Linked DNA regions of Homo sapiens: regions 2, 3, 4 and 5 are each linked to region 1. Evidence: promoter capture Hi-C in 16 types of primary human blood cells and fetal thymus (Javierre and others, 2016). All regions are on one chromosome and are shown on one strand. Each heading gives the region's core, a stretch centred on a gene start or on the middle of the fragment in contact. The rest is flanking DNA. Distances are from core to core; before and after follow the strand shown. Region 1 holds the start of PLCB4 (phospholipase C beta 4). Region 2 overlaps PLCB4 (phospholipase C beta 4). Region 3 overlaps PLCB4 (phospholipase C beta 4). Region 4 overlaps PLCB1 (phospholipase C beta 1). Region 5 overlaps PLCB4 (phospholipase C beta 4).

What was found. Contacts are between HindIII fragments. The CHiCAGO score rates a contact against its expected background, and 5 or more counts as called.
Region 2: a contact is called between a fragment that was not itself captured here and the fragment with the promoter of PLCB4 in region 1, in 1 of 17 cell types (megakaryocytes). The highest score is 8.3, in megakaryocytes.
Region 3: a contact is called between a fragment that was not itself captured here and the fragment with the promoter of PLCB4 in region 1, in 3 of 17 cell types (megakaryocytes, erythroblasts and M2 macrophages). The highest score is 10.4, in megakaryocytes.
Region 4: a contact is called between a fragment that was not itself captured here and the fragment with the promoter of PLCB4 in region 1, in 1 of 17 cell types (megakaryocytes). The highest score is 5.8, in megakaryocytes.
Region 5: a fragment that was not itself captured here is called in contact with the fragment with the promoter of PLCB4 in region 1 in 1 of 17 cell types (megakaryocytes); the score reaches 6.5 in megakaryocytes.

The regions. Positions count from the first base shown.
Region 1 is chr20:9,067,837-9,071,613 of GRCh38, forward strand. PLCB4 (phospholipase C beta 4) reads left to right here and starts at 1,251. Exons shown (of 40, transcript NM_001377142.1): 1 at 1,251-1,370. The HindIII fragment of the contact is 10,687 bases long and covers 1-3,154 here.
Region 2 is chr20:9,369,349-9,373,125 of GRCh38, forward strand. It overlaps PLCB4 (phospholipase C beta 4), which reads left to right. Exons shown (of 40, transcript NM_001377142.1): 10 at 1,866-1,947; 11 at 2,955-3,055; 12 at 3,699-3,756. Among named protein-coding and RNA genes, the nearest start is that of LAMP5, 140 kb to the right of the region's middle. The HindIII fragment of the contact is 4,180 bases long and covers 1-3,759 here.
Region 3 is chr20:9,349,282-9,353,058 of GRCh38, forward strand. The region is part of intron 7 of PLCB4 (phospholipase C beta 4); the gene reads left to right. Among named protein-coding and RNA genes, the nearest start is that of LAMP5, 160 kb to the right of the region's middle. The HindIII fragment of the contact is 6,190 bases long and covers 1-3,777 here.
Region 4 is chr20:8,794,978-8,798,754 of GRCh38, forward strand. The region is part of intron 31 of PLCB1 (phospholipase C beta 1); the gene reads left to right. Among named protein-coding and RNA genes, the nearest start is that of RNU105B, 34 kb to the right of the region's middle. The HindIII fragment of the contact is 1,524 bases long and covers 1,182-2,705 here.
Region 5 is chr20:9,327,904-9,331,680 of GRCh38, forward strand. The region is part of intron 4 of PLCB4 (phospholipase C beta 4); the gene reads left to right. Among named protein-coding and RNA genes, the nearest start is that of LAMP5, 180 kb to the right of the region's middle. The HindIII fragment of the contact is 865 bases long and covers 1,307-2,171 here.

The sequences.
Region 1 (3,777 bases), core at 1-2,500:
AGGCGGAGTGGGGAGGAGGGAGCCCTCCGGAGTTCGGGAGCAGCACGTTGTGAGGGTCCACACAAGGGTGATGCCAGACCGAACACCATTAGGGCCTGGGTGTGAGTGTGACTCGGAGGCACCTGGGGGCCGTTGTAGGGCCGGGAAAAGCCAGGAACTGGCTGGAGCAGCACCCCAGCATCCCAGGGACCAAAGTCTGGGGGATTTGCATGTCTGAGGTTGCACTTGTGGGAAGACTTTTTGGAACCACTTAATCTCTGTGGCTCTGTGTAAGACCCGCGAAATAAAAAGAGGCAGTAGTACTCTTTGGAAGATTGTTTTAGGGATTAAATGAATAAAAAGCGTTTAGAACACTGCAGGACGCATTGTAGGCGCTGTATGGGTTTATGAAACCGAATATAAACAAATAAGCACGTCCCCCACCCAGCCAACGGCTTTGGGGGCCCCGTTCTGGCCAGTCCTGAGCCCCTCCACACGGCCCACGGCGGGCTGCGGGTCTCCCATCCGAGGAGGGTGCCGCTTTTCTGCCCCCGCTCCCTGGGTTCTGCGCCCAGCGCCATCCCGTGCGCCCCCGACCCTTGGGCATGGGGCACATGCCGCGGGGAGCCGCCAGGGAGACCCCAGAGGAGCGCGCCGCGGGCCGGCTTCCCCGGATGCCCCACCCACCTCCTCTTGGCGCTGCCCACCACCTGCCTCGGCTGCTCGGCCCCCGGCTCGCGAGGCTGCGCCCCCGACCCAGTCGGCGCCCACTCCTCGCCCTGCGGGCTCGCGGCAACTGGGCGGCCGGCCCGGCCCCTGCCCACCCCCAGCCCAGCCCGGCGCGCCGCACTGGGCATGCTCCGTAGCCTGGGCAGGTTGGGGCTGCGAGGCGACAGCTCGGGCTCTGGAGCCGGGAGGCGAGAACGAGGAGGGAGGCTCGGGGGCAGGGGAGGAGGAAGCGGCTGGCCGCTGAGGGGCGGCGGGGCCCGGAGCGGGGGACGCGCAGGGCCCGGCGGTGGGCGGGCGGGTCGGCGCTGCCCCGTGGGCTCGCTGGGGAGCCACGGCGGAGACCCCCGCCCTCAACTGAGGTAAGGACCGCGCGGCGCGGAGACGGGGAGGCGGGGAGGCCAGGGAGGGGGTGCGGAGGCAGGCGGGAGGGCGGGACTGGGGTGCGCCGGGAGGGGGCTTGGCGGCGGCTCTTTATGGCGAGGAGGGGGTGGTGGCGCCGCGCCGGGAGCAGTAAGTGAGCTGCACCGCCAACAAGATCTCTCACACACAGACACACACACGCACACGCACACACGGGCGCGCACACACACGCGCGTACACACTGGGTCTCCAGGCAGCGGCCGTCGCCGCATCCCCGGCAGCAGCTCCAGGCAAAGTGACAGGTAGGAAAAGGCATTTCGGGTCCCGCCCGAGGATGCTCCCGCCCGCCTTGGCCCTCAGGGCTTGTTTGCTTTCCGCGGGTGCGTCCCGGACGCGCGCGCGCGCGCACCCGGATGCCCAGCGGGGACCCCGTGCAGGTGCCGGGTGCCAGGCGCCCTGTGCGCGCGGGAGGCAGGGGACCCAGACGCCATCCCCCTTCCCCTGCAGTCATCGCCTGCTGGGTTTCCTCAGACTCTCTCCAGACGTTCACCCTCTTCTGGGCTAGAAATAGCTCGGCTCGACGTGTATATGATTATTTTGGTTGGAAATAGTTGGCACCGTGCAACGCATGTAAATGTGTATGCGTGTGGATCTTCTTGCCTCTTCTGGGGAAATCATAGAAATGATTGACCGTTTCCACTTAAAACAACACTGACAGGCTTAGCACTCATTGGGGGCAGGGTTCGGGCCTCCTAAAAGCCTGTTAGTGAAGGAAATCCTTATTTTCAGAATTTTAAAGTTGCTTTTGCTTTAACCAATTAGACTCTGTATAGTACAATACTTCTGAGTGTAGACTTCGTATATGGTACTGAATCGAAGTATGGAAATATGGAATTCTCTAATTTCCAAGTGTGTTTAAGTGCAACTTTATCTAGAATCATAAAACTAGCATTTTCCTAGAGAGAAATACAACTGCCCACTATAGTTTCCATAAATATGGATATATCTGAAAGATGACCCTACTCTTCCAACTTTTTTTCCTCTTAACTTCTGTAGTGATTCTAGCTATTGTTCTAAAACATGTATTTGAAATTTAATTTTGGCCAGAATATTCAGGAAAGGTGTTTTTTTTTCCATATACGTAATACTTAGTGGTCTATATATTTAAGTTATAGGTATGTGGAGATAGCTGTTTAATAATTCTTTTTGTCTGGAAATAACGTTATTCAAACATAGGCAGCTATGTATCATTTTAAAATGATATTGAATTTCCCCTTAAAGAGAAATCAGATTTATAATGTAAACATGACCAGGAAAAGCAACTGGTGACTTTACCTGGGGAGGCTCCAAGGAGGTTAAGAAAGTATCTGAACAACTGTGTTTTTCAGAATAGAAAAATTGTGTGTGTGTTGCGGGGGAAGGTAAAATTTTAACTTTATTCTTTTATTGTTTTCAAGACGGCTGTTTTCAGAAATGTGTGGTTGAACTGAGACCCTCATATTTTATACTCTTCAAATTTGAGTGGCCTCAGTTATAGAATCATACAGAAGATCAAAAGTCTAGCTCAGCAGGGGCATGTGGTGTAATCCCTCACTATCTGTGTTATGTAATCCAGAATGCTGTTTTTCATAGGACAGTCTTGCATGATCCTTAGCTGGTGTATTGATCTATTATATCATCTTCCTTTTGAACTGTAGTAGTTTAATAAATGATTGCCATCTTTGGAGAGCACCTGTTTTCATAAAAAATCACTTTTTGAAATGGCAAAACATTTTTATTGGCACTTTTATGAACGTAAGACTTGCTGCCAGACGAGTAACCTTTTGAATGTGACGTATTATAACATATCTAAAGGTACCATGTATTAGCTTATGGACTACACTTCCTTCCAACTATATTATTACTCAACAGTTGGAACTTAGTTTTGATGGTATTACTACCCAGCTCTGAATTAATCGCTGTTGAAAATGCTGTTCTACAAGTAACTGTCAAAACAGAATTTCTAACTCCATTTGATCACTGGGTGCACATTTAAATCTGTCGGAATAACTCTACCTTTATTTTGCAAATGCATACCCACGCAGAAAGCTTTGTTCTAAAATACTCTATTGGAAGTTTTATATTTATATGCCTGAAAATGTGAGTGATGTTAAACTGCTTACATGTCCTGGAATCGTGAGGCGGTGTGTTTTTGCCTTATGAGATAAAGAAATATGGTAGTTGAAAAAGTGTTACAGGTTACCAAAAACCTTTTGCAGGAAAAGATTTTAAAAATTTGTATCACCTCTGAAATATTTCAACCACAGCAGAGTCCATTCAGTGCCCGTAGCACAGCTAGTTTGCCTTTCCCAAGATTACACACAACTGTCTTTAGATTAATGTATACTGCTGACTTTGGCAACATGGGACAGTTATATTTGGCAATTTCAGTAAACATGGTATTTTCCTAAGATACCACTAACTTCATTTTGGGGTTTGATTTATTAAGAATTGAAATGTTTGCCTGGTATTCATCTTTACCTCACCCTCTAAGTAAAATTGAGGTAAAAGTGAGCTTCAGGGCTGCTGTGCTGTTTTCCTTGTGATCACATTAGCATGCTAATTTGTGAAAGGATGTAACAATATAAGTGAAATTAGCTTCTGAGTTTAGTGTCTGAATTTTCATCCCCAGTTTTTCAGATGTAGCTGGAAAACTCAAATAACAGAATT
Region 2 (3,777 bases), core at 420-2,919, 300 kb after region 1:
TTAACACAAACTTTTTATGAAATAATAGTCACCCTGAACAGCTACTTTCCCCTAAATTAAAAAGGCTACAAAATTTTTGTCTTACCCCAAATTTAATGTATAAAAATTACCTGAACTCTAGAGATGAAAAATGTAAACATAGCACCCTCTATACTAGGAATCTTAACCATTTATTGATGTCACACACATATTCTCTCCCATATTTGTAGATTTGTTAAAGAGAATTCACAGGCCTCCTTATATTTGAATACAACTGTCTCAAGAACTCTTAAAAATGTACTTCTTGAAGTATTCTTGGACCTGGCATGAAACAATAAAGCTGTGAATGAACACATAATTCATTTACCTACAGCTACTTCTTAGTCTATTTTGGGAAGTCCTACTCTGCCACTGAAGTGGTGCTTTCTCCCACTCAGGAAGAGGAACTGTCAGCACTCTCATTCAGAACTTGCCTTCTACTTAGCACGGATGGCGGAAAGTACAAAAACGCTGGGCATGAGATGCTGTTAAAAATCCTTCTGTGCTCACAGGGGAGGCATTCCAAAGCCAGCCCTCATGGATAGAAGTAAAACTCCATCCTCAAGTCAAGCTGGACTTCTGAATGTCGAGTTAAAATGAAATTATCATGGTAACACATTACCTGGGCTTCCAATCAGGGAGCGATTGAAGGCTCCTTGGTGGCTAAGGTATGGCTCAGAGCCAAGTGTGGTGTTCCAGGGTACCAAGTCCTCTGCTCAATAGCTTTCATTCTGAGTGGCACCAACACATTTATAATGGAGAGTCTCTCCTAACTTTTATCATCACCAGGAAGTGTGTTCATCAAGGTGTTATCTATTCTACTAGCCTTGATGCTCACTGTTCTAGTTAAAAGGCTATCCAAAAATACTATGTCTTGGGGTACTACTGAGATTTGTTGAAACATTGGATAATTGTTCCCCTTCCCCCTCACCCAACCCATCATGTTGACAGTAAAGTCCCTTATCCTTGAGGCAGCTGACATTTCAGAGGGGCTCAAGGGTGCTTAGCTTGAAAACAAGAACAAAATATGTCTGATCACGCCCGTGTCAACTGTGGTTAAGTGTGGGAACCAGGATAAGGACAACTGAAGGCATGGATTGAGTTGTAAGGGGCCGCCTCCTTTTCCCTAGGCCCAGTTATTGTCAACATGAGGGTTTGTTCTAGAGCTACTGTCTTATCTGCCACATTCCTTTTTCATAAGAAGGCAATTTGGTAGCATCAGAATTTATCATTGTTTTTGTCCAAAAATGTGTGTCCCAGGCCAGGCGCTGTGGCTCATGCCTGTAATCCTAGCACTTTGGGAGGCCGAGGTGGGTGGATCACCTGAGGTCAGGAGTTTGAGACCAGCCTCACCAATATGATGAAACCCCGTCTCTACTAAAAATACAAAAAATTAGCCAGGTGTGGTGGCGTGCACCTGTAGTCCCAGCTACTTGGGAGGCTGAGGCGGGAGAATTGCTTGAACCTGGGATGCAGAGGTTGCAGTGAGCTGAGATAGCGCCACTGCACTCCAGCCTAGGTGACAGAGTGAGACTCTGTCTCAAAAAATAAAAAATAAAAAATAAATGTGTGTCCCTCCAGTGCCGCTTGCCCCTTGTTCTCCCAAGCACCAGGGGGACCCCTGGTCTTAGATTCAAGTTGCATCACTAGACTAACCAGCTCTGGGAACCAGAGGGACACTGGAGGAACTAGTTTGGGAAATGAAAAACATCTGCAATGAGAGGTAATTTTATTCTCCTCTTCCTTTTACCCTAGTCTCACTCTCCATAGTAGGACCTGGATCTTTGCATCAGAGAAAACATAATGAACAATAACTGGAATGTGTGTTTCTTTCTTTTCTGCCCTAGTATTACTAGAACATTTGCATCGGGAAAAACAGAAAAGGTGATCTTTCAAGCACTCAAGGAGTTAGGTCTTCCCAGTGGAAAGGTATGCATTAACTTAATAATGTATTTCTAAAACCATTTTGTTTATTTATCTTCTCATATGTAATGAGCTAGATTATTTATATTAAACTGATCTAAATTAGATTTGGAATTATATGTCAGTGACATATAGTACAGTTAATTTTCTTTTCTTTCTTCTTCCTCCCTCTCCCTTCCTCTCTCCCTCCCTCCTTTCCTTCCTCCCTTCCTTCCTTTTGTTGCCTGGGCATTTTAACCTAAATCTCTAAAAATGTAAATAGTTTGCTTCAAATGATTTTTGTCACCTTTCTTAAGAAAAGGAAATGAAGGCCAGCTTGCTGTGTTACACAGTTTTTATTTTAGAGAAGCTCACCAACACTGCCTCAACCAGGCACAACATTAGCATGAATAATTAACTAATAAATTCAATTCTACAAGATGGCTATGCAATATTTTGTGAAGCATCTCTCCCCGCACCATTTGTATTCATGGCCCTTCAAATTTAAAATAATTGAAATTAATTTATTGACTTGAAGAAAGATTGAAGCCTGGTACTATTTTAATAAGTCCTATTTGAAATATAAATTTCAGTTTGAAAAGTAAAATCTTACATGGTTACCCTAAGCCCGTTCACATGGTCTTGCAAAAATTCACAAAATAAGCATAATTAAACCTTGGGCTTGATTTATTCAGCATCCCTCAGGCAGGCACTTTTCTCCCTCAAGGTGAGTTGGAGGAAATATTTATATTCGTTCTTTGGGGTATTTCCCAGAGCAAGGCCAGCTGTAGCCAGGTGTTCGCACACACAGAATCTGGCAGCATGATAACTAGAAACACTGATGTACACGCACTGTTTTTTAGTGAGATGGCCTGGCAGTGCCTGGAAGTTGGCCTCCTGGCTTCTGTCAGCAGGAATCAGAGATGAAGACCCTGAGTCCAAGTGGTCTTCACTGTGCTTCATGACCCTGTAGCTTCTCACCCTCCAAGGGAAAAACGGTTCTGTGATTCATAACATGATTTTATTCCTTACAGAATGATGAAATTGAGCCCACAGCATTTTCTTATGAAAAGTTCTATGAACTGACACAAAAGATTTGTCCTCGGACAGATATAGAAGATCTTTTCAAAAAAATGTAAGTTCCACTTATGAGGAAGTGCCATATAAATATTATCACTGTCCTTTTCGATTTTTTAAAACGTTTTTGTCCTATTTTAATAGAGTATGTTGGTAGCATCTAGGAATATCTAGTCAGGGTTACATTTTTAACCCCATACTTTATCAGTGTAAAAGTTCACTCTGAGTTTTTGAGAAACTTTTACGTATATTAATTGCAGCACCTGGAACTTTTTTTTGCATTGGCTTTACTAACTACCTACAATTTTAACCTGCTCCTTTAGGTATTAACCCATTATGTGAACTAACTAGATTCAATTTGGAATGTTAATATGTTTTTGAAAAGTTGATTCATTCCAATTATTTCAAATGGATGACTTACATGTTGTTTTTGAAATAATATCTTTTGAAAACGGTAAAAAAAAAAAAAAATTGCAGACTTTTTCTGTGACCTAGTGGGAGTGTTTTCCTTCTGTTGTTGTTGTTGTTGTTGTTTTATTTTTCTCCCTTTATGAACAGTCTCTGGCCATTTTAAGAATTCACCACTACTTCAGGGTTAGAAAATAAGTTTAGAATTATCATCAACAAATGTCAACATGTAAATCGTACATACTGTAGCATCATATACAAAAACTTACTTTTTCTAATAAATTTCTTTTCAGCAATGGAGACAAAACTGATTATTTAACGGTAGACCAATTAGTGAGCTTTCTAAATGAAGTAAGCTTTTTCATACATTAA
Region 3 (3,777 bases), core at 669-3,168, 280 kb after region 1:
GCGGGTTCCTCCCCATCCCCTCTCCCCACAGCGCTGATAACCACTCTAATGAGTCTTTTTATTCCCCACACACTTTCCTTTTTATATGCAGTTGGACTCATGCTGTTTAATATACTGCATTTTATTATATGAATTTTCCTGTTTAAATTAAAACTTTTTCTTAGGTTTCAATGTAACCGCAAATCCCCATGATCTGTGAGGTGGATTTTCATGGGCGCTCAGCTCTTGCTGTTTTAGAAATCATCCAGCCTCCTTCACAGTTGTGTTTGAAATGCTGTGCTCTTCATGGGGCACATGGTTTTCAGTGCTGGAGCCTTTCTCACCACTGCATTTCATGAACTTGACAGGTTTCATAAGAAGAGACTGTAGACCCAGCCCAGAGAAGCTCATTTTGTCCTAGTTGCAAGTGTTATCAAATGACTCCACCAAGGGAATGCAAAATGAATTACTCTAATTGCACTAGAAGCATAATGTGAAGTTTGTATTTCACCTTTTGGCCCCTGGGAGAGAAAAATGTCACTGACTTTAAATTGCTTTTCCATTTTCCACATAGCCCCAGTTTCCAGTGCCAGCAAAAAATTGCCATTGGAAACATAATGTATGCTGACATGGGCCTACATGTATTTGTATGTTTTCTCATCTGTGTGGCAAAATTAAAAACTGGATGGCATGAAGAAGTGGGCAGAATCCCTTGTATTACATGAGACTTTGTTGCCTCCAAGCTCTATGATCTGGAGCCAGTAATTTAATGATCATAATCTGGGGTCGGCAGGTGCAGGCCATGGGCTGAACACAACCCTTAGCCTAATTTTGTATGTCCTGTGAACTAAGAATGGCTTTTACATTTTTGAAGCGATGTTTAAAAAATAAATTTAAAAAAAAAACAGGAAAACTAGACAACATGGAACTATGTGTGCCCCTGAAGCCTAAAATATTTATTATCTGGCTCTTAATGGAAAAGATTTGCTGGTCTCTAATAATAATACTAATAATAGTAGCAGCAGCAGCAGGAAAATAGTTTATATTGTATGTCAGACACTGTTCAAAGTGCTTGATATGTATTATCTCATTTAACTCTCACAAGTCTGTGGGATAGGTATTATGATTATCCTCATTTTACAAATAAAGATGCCCAGAGAGGTTGAGTAACTTGACTTTTCAAGGCCATACGTCCAGTAAGTGGTGTTTTGAGCCCAGGCAGTGGCTCTCTCTAGTGCTCTAGATCCTGAATTCTACCACCACCCTGTGCTGCAATTCACAGTTGGCTTCTTTTTCTTTTTCTCTTTTTTTTTCTGAGGCAGAGTCTCACTCTGTCCCCCAAGGCTGTAATACAGTGGTGTGTTCTCAGCTCACCACAACCTCTGCCTCCCGGGTTCAAGTTATTCTTGTGCCTTGGCCTCCCAAGTACCTGGGATTACAGGTGCATGCCACCACGCCCAGCTAATTATTGTATTTTTAGTAGAGACCGGGTTTCACCATGTTGACCAGGCTGGTCTCAAACTCCTGGCCTCAAGTGATCCACCCACCTCGGCCTCCCAAAGTGTTGGGTTACAGGCGTGAGCCACCGTGCACAGCCAGTTGGCTGATTTAGCTTATCTGTATAAAAACTGGGGCAGGGAGTGGGGGGAACAGCCTCTTTCACCTGTAACACTGTGTGATGTTAATGTACTTTTTAGGCAAATGTTTTAAGATCATTATCTGTGGGAGCTATAGTCATACAGTAGTACTTCCCGAATTAGTGGCCTGAAAAAAGGATTCCTTAAAAAAGTCCACATATAAAGGGGGTTCTTTGGTCAGCTAAGCATGAGAAAGCCTTTAGACAGGTTTCTTTATGGTAGTGCTTTCAGAAGAAGTATTTCTTTTTTTTTTTTTTGGAGGAGCTGGGTCTCAGATATATTTGAGTCTTAGTGCTTTACTCTTTTTTTTTAAGTTTTAGGGTACATATGCACAACGTGCAGGTTAGTTACATATGTATACATGTGCCATGTTGGTGTGCTGCACCCATCAACAGAAGAAGTATTATTCTTATGTGGATCTCAGCAAGGAAGAAAGCTATTCAGCTGTTTCCTAAACTTTTTTTTTAATTTTTTGATGAGACACCATTAACATCTTTCAGAACCAGTGTGGCACTGAATAAAAGTCAGTAAATTATATCATAGAGGCATTATTCAGCTCAATATTTTTCTAGAAGTATCAAAACAATGATGTAATCTAAGGATTCATTTATTCATATTTACCATAAATATTCTATTTATTTTCCCTGTTTTTCCACTTCCACTTGTCTTCACTCCTCACTGTTTTCTGCTGTGTGTGGGGAGACTTTACCTTAAAAGACAGAGAACCAGGTAATGAAACTCAAGCCCACCGATTTAGATTCCTTTTAGTAGCTCTTATATTGAAAGTCCTATTTAGTTTATAGAATTACCTATAGATTTGATTTGCTTGAACTAAATTGGTGGATGCTGCCTAGTTAAGAGTTAGACAAAGGCTTCTTGATTGATTATATTGATCTCAGACTAAGCAGGTATGATTGTCATCAAGTTGAAATACTATTTACTTTGGCATGACTTAATTTGCCAACATTGTCAACAGGTACCTGTCAGGAAGAATGTGACCGATAAATACAGGCCATCAACTAAAGAAACAACTCTATGAACACCTTTTAATTCACCAGCTGTTTACTCATCCCATACCAACAGAATTTCACAAATTTGACTGAGTTGAGTCCAAAAGTAATGCTGTCAAAAAACTGATGGTTGCTGACTGGCTTAAGATGATGCTTTTGGTTTTCTCAACATTTTAAAATCCCTCCATTCTTCTAGAGCTTTCCATTTGGATGCCAAATAATGTTACATAAAATAAACCAAAAATCTTATTTTATTTTTGAAAGATTTCTGGGGATGTAGGAATGTAGTTGGTCTGTGGACTTTCAGGCACTAAAGAACATCATGTGTTGTATATCTAAATCAGAAGCACAAGTGAATATAGGCATTAATGTAAGTATACTCTATGTATACATTTTTCCCTCCTGATCTTTTGTGTCCATAACAGTATATTTATTGTAGTAGATATTTGGAAATAGATGCAGTTATTTGTGACAAGATTCTATAGATCCAATAGGACATTGCTACAGGGTATCTATTAATATATAGAATCAGGCTTAGGCAATGCAAAAATTGTGTCTAAGGAATGCTAACAAAGCCATTTGGTATGGAAGTTTGGGACTGCAGCTTCTGAACAGCACAGGTGTCCTCTTTTTTCTTGTGACTATTTAGAGGCTCTTTTTGACCTAACTGGCCAGTGTTGTCAAGATAACCAGCAAGGCTGATAGACTGTTTTGACTCTCTGGGAGTGACTAAATTAATTTTGTCTAGGAATGTATAAATATTATCCTCACCCATTCAATTATCTCTTTCAAACATAGCCACCCATACTCATAGATGGCAGCTTATTTCTTGCACAAATACTCATTCACCATGCTCTGAGGGTAATTTAAGAATCATATGATTTAATTTTGTCTAGGAATGTATAAATATTATCCTCACCCATTCAGTTCTATCTTTCAAATACAGCCTCCCATGCTAATAGATGGCAGCTTCTTTTTTGCTCACATACTCATTCAGCATGCTCTGAGGGTGATTTAAAAATCATATGACACTTAATATATTTCTTCTTTCACTTTCATCAATTTTACTCTGTAGCTTCAGACTGTCAAGAAAAAGAGGCCCCAGTTGCTCTCTTTTTCCCCCTTTCAATTCTTCTCTTTTAGAATTTGAA
Region 4 (3,777 bases), core at 694-3,193, 270 kb before region 1:
ATGGGCATGTCATCTAGAGTTCCCAACATTTTTACCATCCTGCAATAGCAGTCATAGGAGAATATGCCTCAATCAAAATCAGGCTAAAAATTTGTTTCAATTCTGCATGTGAGCTGGGACCTTAAGTCTTTCTGGTCGCTATTTGGTAGGGGACCAAATGTGGCCAGTCACACTGGAAAAGTTTATTTTAGATTGTCCCACTTTGTGACATGCACTAGGATCTTTTCATGTGGAGAGTTCATTTTTTCCCTATGAAAAAAGAGATTCAATTAGTTTATTCATTTTGTAGGTAATTTTGAGGGCATTGGGGAAAACAGAAGTAGGTGGTCCCTCGAAGCAACTTGTACAATAAAATATTTTGGCCTCAATTTGACACAAAATGATGTTGTACATTGCTGCACATAAGTCCCATGGAAACTTATTATGTTATAAACAACAAGAGACACTCTTAGAAGGGAATACTTGGCTCCTTTCCAGTAGAGTTCTGAATTCTGGAGAAACATTCGACTGCATGTTTTCTAGCAATGAGATATTCGATTCAGTCCTTGAGTGTATGTGGGTTTCAGTTTTGTTTGAGTTGTGGCTTTTTATGAAATCCATAGTGGTAGAATTTTCAAGATGGACGCAGTAAACACTGGCCAGTCTTCTGACTCAGTGAAATAATTGGTTTCCTGGGGATTTCCATACCTGGGTTTGCCAAAGCCAGTAGGAAACATGGGGAAACCCCATCTCTACCAAAATACAAAAATTAGCCAGGTGTGGTGGTGGGCGCTGGTAGTCCCGGCTACTTGGGAGGCTGAGGCAGGAGAATCACTGGAACCCGGGAGGCGGAGGTTGCAGTGAGCCGAGATCGCGCCACTGCATTCAAGCCTGGGCGACTGAGTGAGACCACCCTGTCTCAAAAAAAAAAAAAAAAAGAAAAGAAAACACGGTTAGTCACAAGTTGCCTTGAGTCTGTTGTGAATATGCCAATGTTTATTGATCACTTTGCTGCTCCTGACTCTCTTTATAAGAAGAATCATCTTTTGAGGGGAATATTTAATGAACTATCTCCATAACCTCATAAAACAGTCAATAAATGTGTAATTTACTTTTTCTCTGATGCTTAATTTGTCTTTGATGCTTCTTAGAACACAGGTTTTCTGCTTAATTTAGCTCATCATCAAGAGAGAATTCCGGGAAGCTTTAGGGCATTTTAATTCATTCCCAAAGAACATTTCATCATGTAGCTACTGGCTCTTTTTTTTCCCTCCACCAAGGGAATATAGACTGATTTTCCTTATTTCCCCTCTGACATCTTTGTAACAGGGTGATTGACTCATCCCTCTGCTTGAAGTTAGTCTTGTTAGACCTACCGCTGGGCTCTGAGACAGAACCTTAAATGCGGCTGATATCTCCTGTGTTTGGGAGAGAAAAGGCAAACTTCGGGATTTAAAATAAAATATTTTTTAAAGTAATGCATTTGTGCCTCCTCTAATCTTTTGCGGCTTGATGGGGAAATGGATTCTTCCTTGCCAGCACTTATTGGATCTTCTCCCAGAAGCCAAACTTGCAGAGTGGAAACTGGCTGCTTATAGACAGTGTTTCTGCTCATTGTCAAGTCTCAATTAACCACACAGTGGTTTGTTTTTGTTTGTTCTGTAGAAGAAAATTCTTTTTCATTTTTGTCAATATAAAGAATTGCCTTTTTAGGAAACAAATATAGTTATGCCTTATTTTCTTGAGTATAAAACTTAGACATGTTTACTCTCCTTCTGGGCAATACCAGGGCATTGGAACAATTTTAATTCCACTGGTCCCTCATCAGTTTATTTTTGAAATTTAATCTAATAGACTTTTAAACACATAAGACATTATTCTATGTTTTGATCATGGTTCATTTAGATATGTCTACATATTCACATATTCTTTGTGAAACGTTTTTTCTTGTATCTTCTGCCCATTTGGGATCATCATCTTGTACTTCCTCTAGAAGTTCCTTTCATGCGGTCTACTGGTGGGAAACTCTTTGGAGTTTTTATTTTTGTTTTTGTGCAGAAATGTCTTTGTTTGTTTAATGTAGTAATAGATGAGAATCTACATTTCCTCCATTCTGGAATGATATTTTCACTGGATATAAAATTTTGTGTTGGTGGTTATTTTCCTTTAGCACACTGAAGATAAACTTCCACCACCCTCTAGCATCTATTGCTGTTCTTGAGAGGTTAACTGTTAGTCTTAATACAGTTCTTTTGATGATAATTTATATTCCCCCTCCCCCCACCGACAGCATTTAGTATTTTTTTCTTACATTTTGTGCAGTTTTTCTATAGTGTGTCTAAATATGTGTTTGAGATGGCTAGATGGATCACTTTCCTCAGTTCTGCAAAAACTCTAAACTATCATGAAAGCAAATATGGCTTCTGTCATTTTTTTTCTTTCCTTCTAAGATTCCATATATATTTGCATATAAAATAAAATGAACCTTTTTACTCCATCTCCTCTGTCAATGAATTGTTTTTAGTATTTTCCATCCTTCGTCTTTCTTTACTGCTCTGTGGGCAATTTTTTTTCCTACACTTTTTGCAATGCACCAATTTTTTGTTTAAACTTCTATTCTATGCATCCACTGAGTGTTTAATTTCAGGTTTTGTATTTTATTTCCAGATGTTCTATTTGGTTTATTTTCAAATATATAATCTGTATGTCTTAGCTTGTTGCAGGGAAGCTTTCCTGTGAGATTTCTCACTCTGGGAAAGCCTCAGCTCTTGACTGTAGGCTCCTCACCTTTCAAGGCTATCAAAGGGTGAACACACAATTTCCATCATGAGCAAAAGCCTATCAGGGCAAAAGCAGCTTCCTTGCTTATTACCTTTCTAGGTTCAATGTCCCCTTCAGTTTGACCCTGATCATTAAGTTGTTGTAGTTCTCTGGGTCTTTAAAGATAGTTTTAATGGCCAGGCATGGTGGCTTATGTCTGTAATCCCAACACTTTGGGAGGCCAAGACAGCAGGATCACTTGAGGTCAGGAGTTTGAGACCAGCCTCGCCAACATGGTGAAACACTGACTCTATTAAAAACAATACAAACATTAGTCAGGCATGCTGGTGTGCACCTGTAATCCCAGCTACCCTGGAGGCTAAGGTGGGAGAATTGCTTGGACCTGGGAGGTGGAGGCTGCAGTGAGCCGAGATCATGCCACTGCACTCCAGACTGTGTGACAGCGCAAGACTCTATATCGAAAAAAAAAAAAAGCTTTAGTATCAAACCCAGCTTCTTAATTTTTTTCAGTGGAAAGGATGGTCCAAATAACCTAATCAGCCATTACCAGAAATAGAAAGTCCCCACATTGCATTTCTGAAATATTTGAATTAGTTAACATCTGTATCAGTCAGGGTTCAACTAGAAAAACAGAGCCAGTAAAAGATTGTGTGTGTGTGTGACAGTAATTGGCTTATGCAATTTTGGTGGATGGCTATCTGCCCCGTTCTCAATGCTGTCTCTCTAATGATGGACCCTAGCAGGCAGGCAGGAAAGGAAAATTACAAGTAGGCTTGGTGACTAGAGTAACCAGCAGAAGCTGAGCCTCTTTGTCACAGAGTTGAACATACACACATACACACACACACACACACACACCCCTGGCCCAGGAGTCAGACAATTAAAGGAAGACCCAATGGGCAGGGGAAGTGATTGCAGGCTCAGCTGCTGCTTCCCATCAACCAGACACATAAATCAACAGATCAGCAACAATGCCTGAGTATTACACAATGACTGCTGACTCCCCCATCAGCCCTC
Region 5 (3,777 bases), core at 489-2,988, 260 kb after region 1:
CTGTTTTTAGAGATGAAGAAATGAATATCTAACCACATTTGGATCAGGTTCATCTAAAACCCTAAAGCCTATGTAAAATACCCAATTGTTTCTGCTGCTGGTGAGTTGGTTTTTATGCTTACATGTTTCTCTCACCTTCCACAGGAAGCTGTAATGTGAAATATGTACCACCAGATAAAATAACGGAAGAGGGATTTAGATTGAAGGGAAAAAAGTAAACAAGGGAGAGTACATCAAATGAGGGGTAAATTTAGCAGGCAGCAACTCAACAAGCAGCGAAAATGATCTGTAAAGTTGAAAGAGGTGAGCCTCAGATTTGCTTCTGGTGTTCCTGGTGGCTAAAGCAATGTAGAAAACACAAGTTGTTGTAGGGTTCACAGTGTCCATTAGATTGTAAGGAAAGCAACAGGTCAGTAGGAACAGAGTTTTTCCTGGTCCTAGGATCTGAAAAAAAATTCTTACAGAATTCTTACAAAATACACTCCCCCATAAAAAACTGTAATAAGTACAGAATGTTTCAGTAGTACAGTTGTTCAGTTATCTATGTGGTAGGATTCACGGGGAATCCATAAGAAATGCAGTAATTAAAACCAAAACACTTCAGAAACCCATCTGATCCTTTGTGATGATTGCTGGCATCAGTGGCAAGGAGAATAGCAGAGGCTTCTTCAGGTATGACTGCTGAGCAGTTACCTGAGCCGACTGCTGAGCAGTTACCTGAGCCCACTCCTGAACACTGTCAGTCTTTCATGTGTCAGCCTCAAAGCAGGTGTAGCATATTGTTCAAAACATTTGATCTGCATGCCTCAATGTCCTCACTTGTAAAATAGGTATAAATAGTGAAGCAGCGTTGTTTGTCTGGGGTAATACCCGAGGTTCGTTGTCCCACAGCCATGGAAAGCTAGGACGTGGACACATCAGAGTGAGGTTAAGAGTGGAAGTTTAATAGACAAAAGAAAGAGAAGAGCTCTCTGCACAGAAAGGGCTCCTGGAGAAAATGGGTTGCCACTTCCGCAGTGAAATGCAGAAAGTTTAATAAATGAACTTAAGGAGGGGGTATGTGATTTACACAGGGGATGAAAGATCGGTTGGAGGAGGCATGCCATTTGCAAGTGTGCAAAGAAGCTGGCCACTCCACCCTAATCTTTTATTATGCAGATGGTTATTCTAGCTGGCTGGTGCCATGTTGCCTCGTCCTTATTGTACACGTGGTGACAAAGAAAAGGGAAGATGGAGCCTCCGTGTTGAACATACCTGGCTTCCAGGTAGCCTTCTCTTGGCGCAGCTGCCAGCATTCACCTGTACAAGCTTCCAGCTTGTTTATCTATGTCTGTAGCTCGGTTTTTCAGGCTGCTCTTTGTTAGAAAAGAAATGATTTGGGGGCTACTTTTATTAAAAGGGAAGCCTTGCCGAAGACTCCTTGTACTGACACTATCTGCCTAATAATTTCTTTCTAGCTCCTATATCAATAATAAAAATGGTACCTCCCTCATAGGAATGTTGGGAGGATAATAAGTTAATGTAGAGAAAGTACTTAGAGCGTTGCCTGGCTCTTAGGAAGCACTGTGTATGTTACCTAGCAATAGTAGGCATATTACTAGGTGCCACAGGCCTTTTGAATTGCTCATCAGGAGACTAGAACGGCATCTCCCTGTTGGATTCCAGCTGAGCATCAGTTACTGGTGGAAGGGGGAAAGGTCTATATTTAACAACTTAACCCAATAGGAACATCTGTCCAAAGAATCAAAGGCCATCAAAAGGAATGCAGGAGCTACACATGCTGTTATTTTGTCTGACAGATTTTTTCACAAGGTAATACTTGTAGCACATAGCAAGGGTCTGTGATGGAGCAGCTACAGCCGTGCCCTCTGGCTCCTCATGTGGAATGTGAGCTGAGAGGCCCAGTGTCCTTTATCTCCTGGGATCTTAAAGCAGATAGGAGAGGCACAAATGGAATGAACATTCTATATCCTTCCAAGCAAGAGACCAAGCTCATGAGGGTAAAAGCAACTTAATAAGGACCCATGCCCATCTATTACATCAGTCCATAAATCATTCTGATGGCAGGATGTTATCACTGAGGGCTTTAGTTTAACTTGAAAAAAATAAAAATTTGTGGTTCTGAGAGAGGCGGTGTTTGTGCAGAATCACAAAGGATCTGCTAGGTATGAAGCTTAAAGCATTTCCCTGGAATAAGGAGAGGAAATAAATAAGCCATAAAGCATCTCTTGGGCTCTGAGCTTTCAGGATCTGATAGAAAGCTAGACCTCTTGGTTAATTCCAAACCAGACTCCACCTGCTTTCCCAGTCTGAAGGCCACACCCATCATTCTCCCTGGTTTATGAGGTCTCTTTGGTGGTAGTCACGCATAATGTGATTTAAATTGAATGAGATCCTTTATGGCCTCTTCCTCAGACTCCTCTTTGTTTCTCTCCAACCTTGACAAGGTCTTTTTAACTTCCTCTCCATTCTTATCAAACCAGGAAGCAAGGAGGGTGAGTCTCATATGTACCTAGTGGAGTCTACCTAGGCAGTGTTCGTTTATTGACCGTCCAACAATCTTCTGGCGATAGGCAGAGGGGCCCTGCTTGGTCAAGTTTGCCCAAGTCAGACAGGCATGGGCTTTGGAATCAGAGAAGCTGGCTTGAATTTCAGGTTTGTTACTATTTGACTGTGGCTTTGAATAATTTAGTCTCCTCTGAACCTTTTTCCCCCCTTCTCTCTGAAACCGCATTGGCCAATATGGTAACCACTAACCACATTGTGGCTGTTTAAATGAAAAATTAATTAAAATAAAAAATTCAGCACTTGGTTGCATTACCCACATTTCAAGTGCTCCCTGTGGCTCATGGTGAACGTATTGGGCAGAACCCATCTGGCACATTTCCATCATCACGGTAAATCCGTTGGACAATGTTGATCTAGTCTAAAACCTTGCAGAGTTATCATGAGATTTATGTGAGATAGTATTTGTGAAATACCTCACAACAAGAGCCCTAAAATTGTAGCTATTTTCTCATAAGTACGACCATTTAGTCAGCATTTACTTTGTCCCAGGTACTTAGACATTCTCAATATTAATTCTTTGAAAGCCCTGTGAGTCGGTATCAGTTTTCCCAGTTTACAGCTAGGAAAAGTGAAATATGGCAAGGTTAAGCAGAATAACTGCAAGATTCTCCAGCAGTTGCCTGGTGAGGAGGCTGACATGCAAACCCAGGAACCAACCACTACAAGGCCTGGATCTCAAAACCACTGTGGACTGCCACCTCTTCTGAAGGTTTTCTTTCCCAGAAAACGCAGTTTTGTGATGGAATGTGAATGCCTACTCCATTTCACATTTCTCTACGTCCTAATGTATCTGTCCAGTGACAAACACAGAAAAGCCCCTGGCCAACTCATGTTTAAATAAGGTAGAGTTAAAGCTTTTATGATCTGGTCCAAAATAGCTGTCCCTAGCTGGTAATAAGACTTGACTATGCCCTATTTGAAGATGCCAACTCCACAGTATAAGATACAGACATTTGCAGTTAACTTAGGAAGTGATGGCGAGAGAGAGGGCAAGAGAGAAAGGGTAAGAAATAACTACAACTCACAATTAAAATAAAATCAGCTACCACTTAGCTGTATCCCCATCCAAGGAATTTCTCCACTTCAATCAGAGTATTTGGCCTGCTGAACTCTCTGACATTCCTTATGAGGGGATTAAACTTTATTGAACAGAATCACTTTAAAAATTGAAATAAAGGAAAAATGTTTAATGTTAGTTGATTTGAAAGT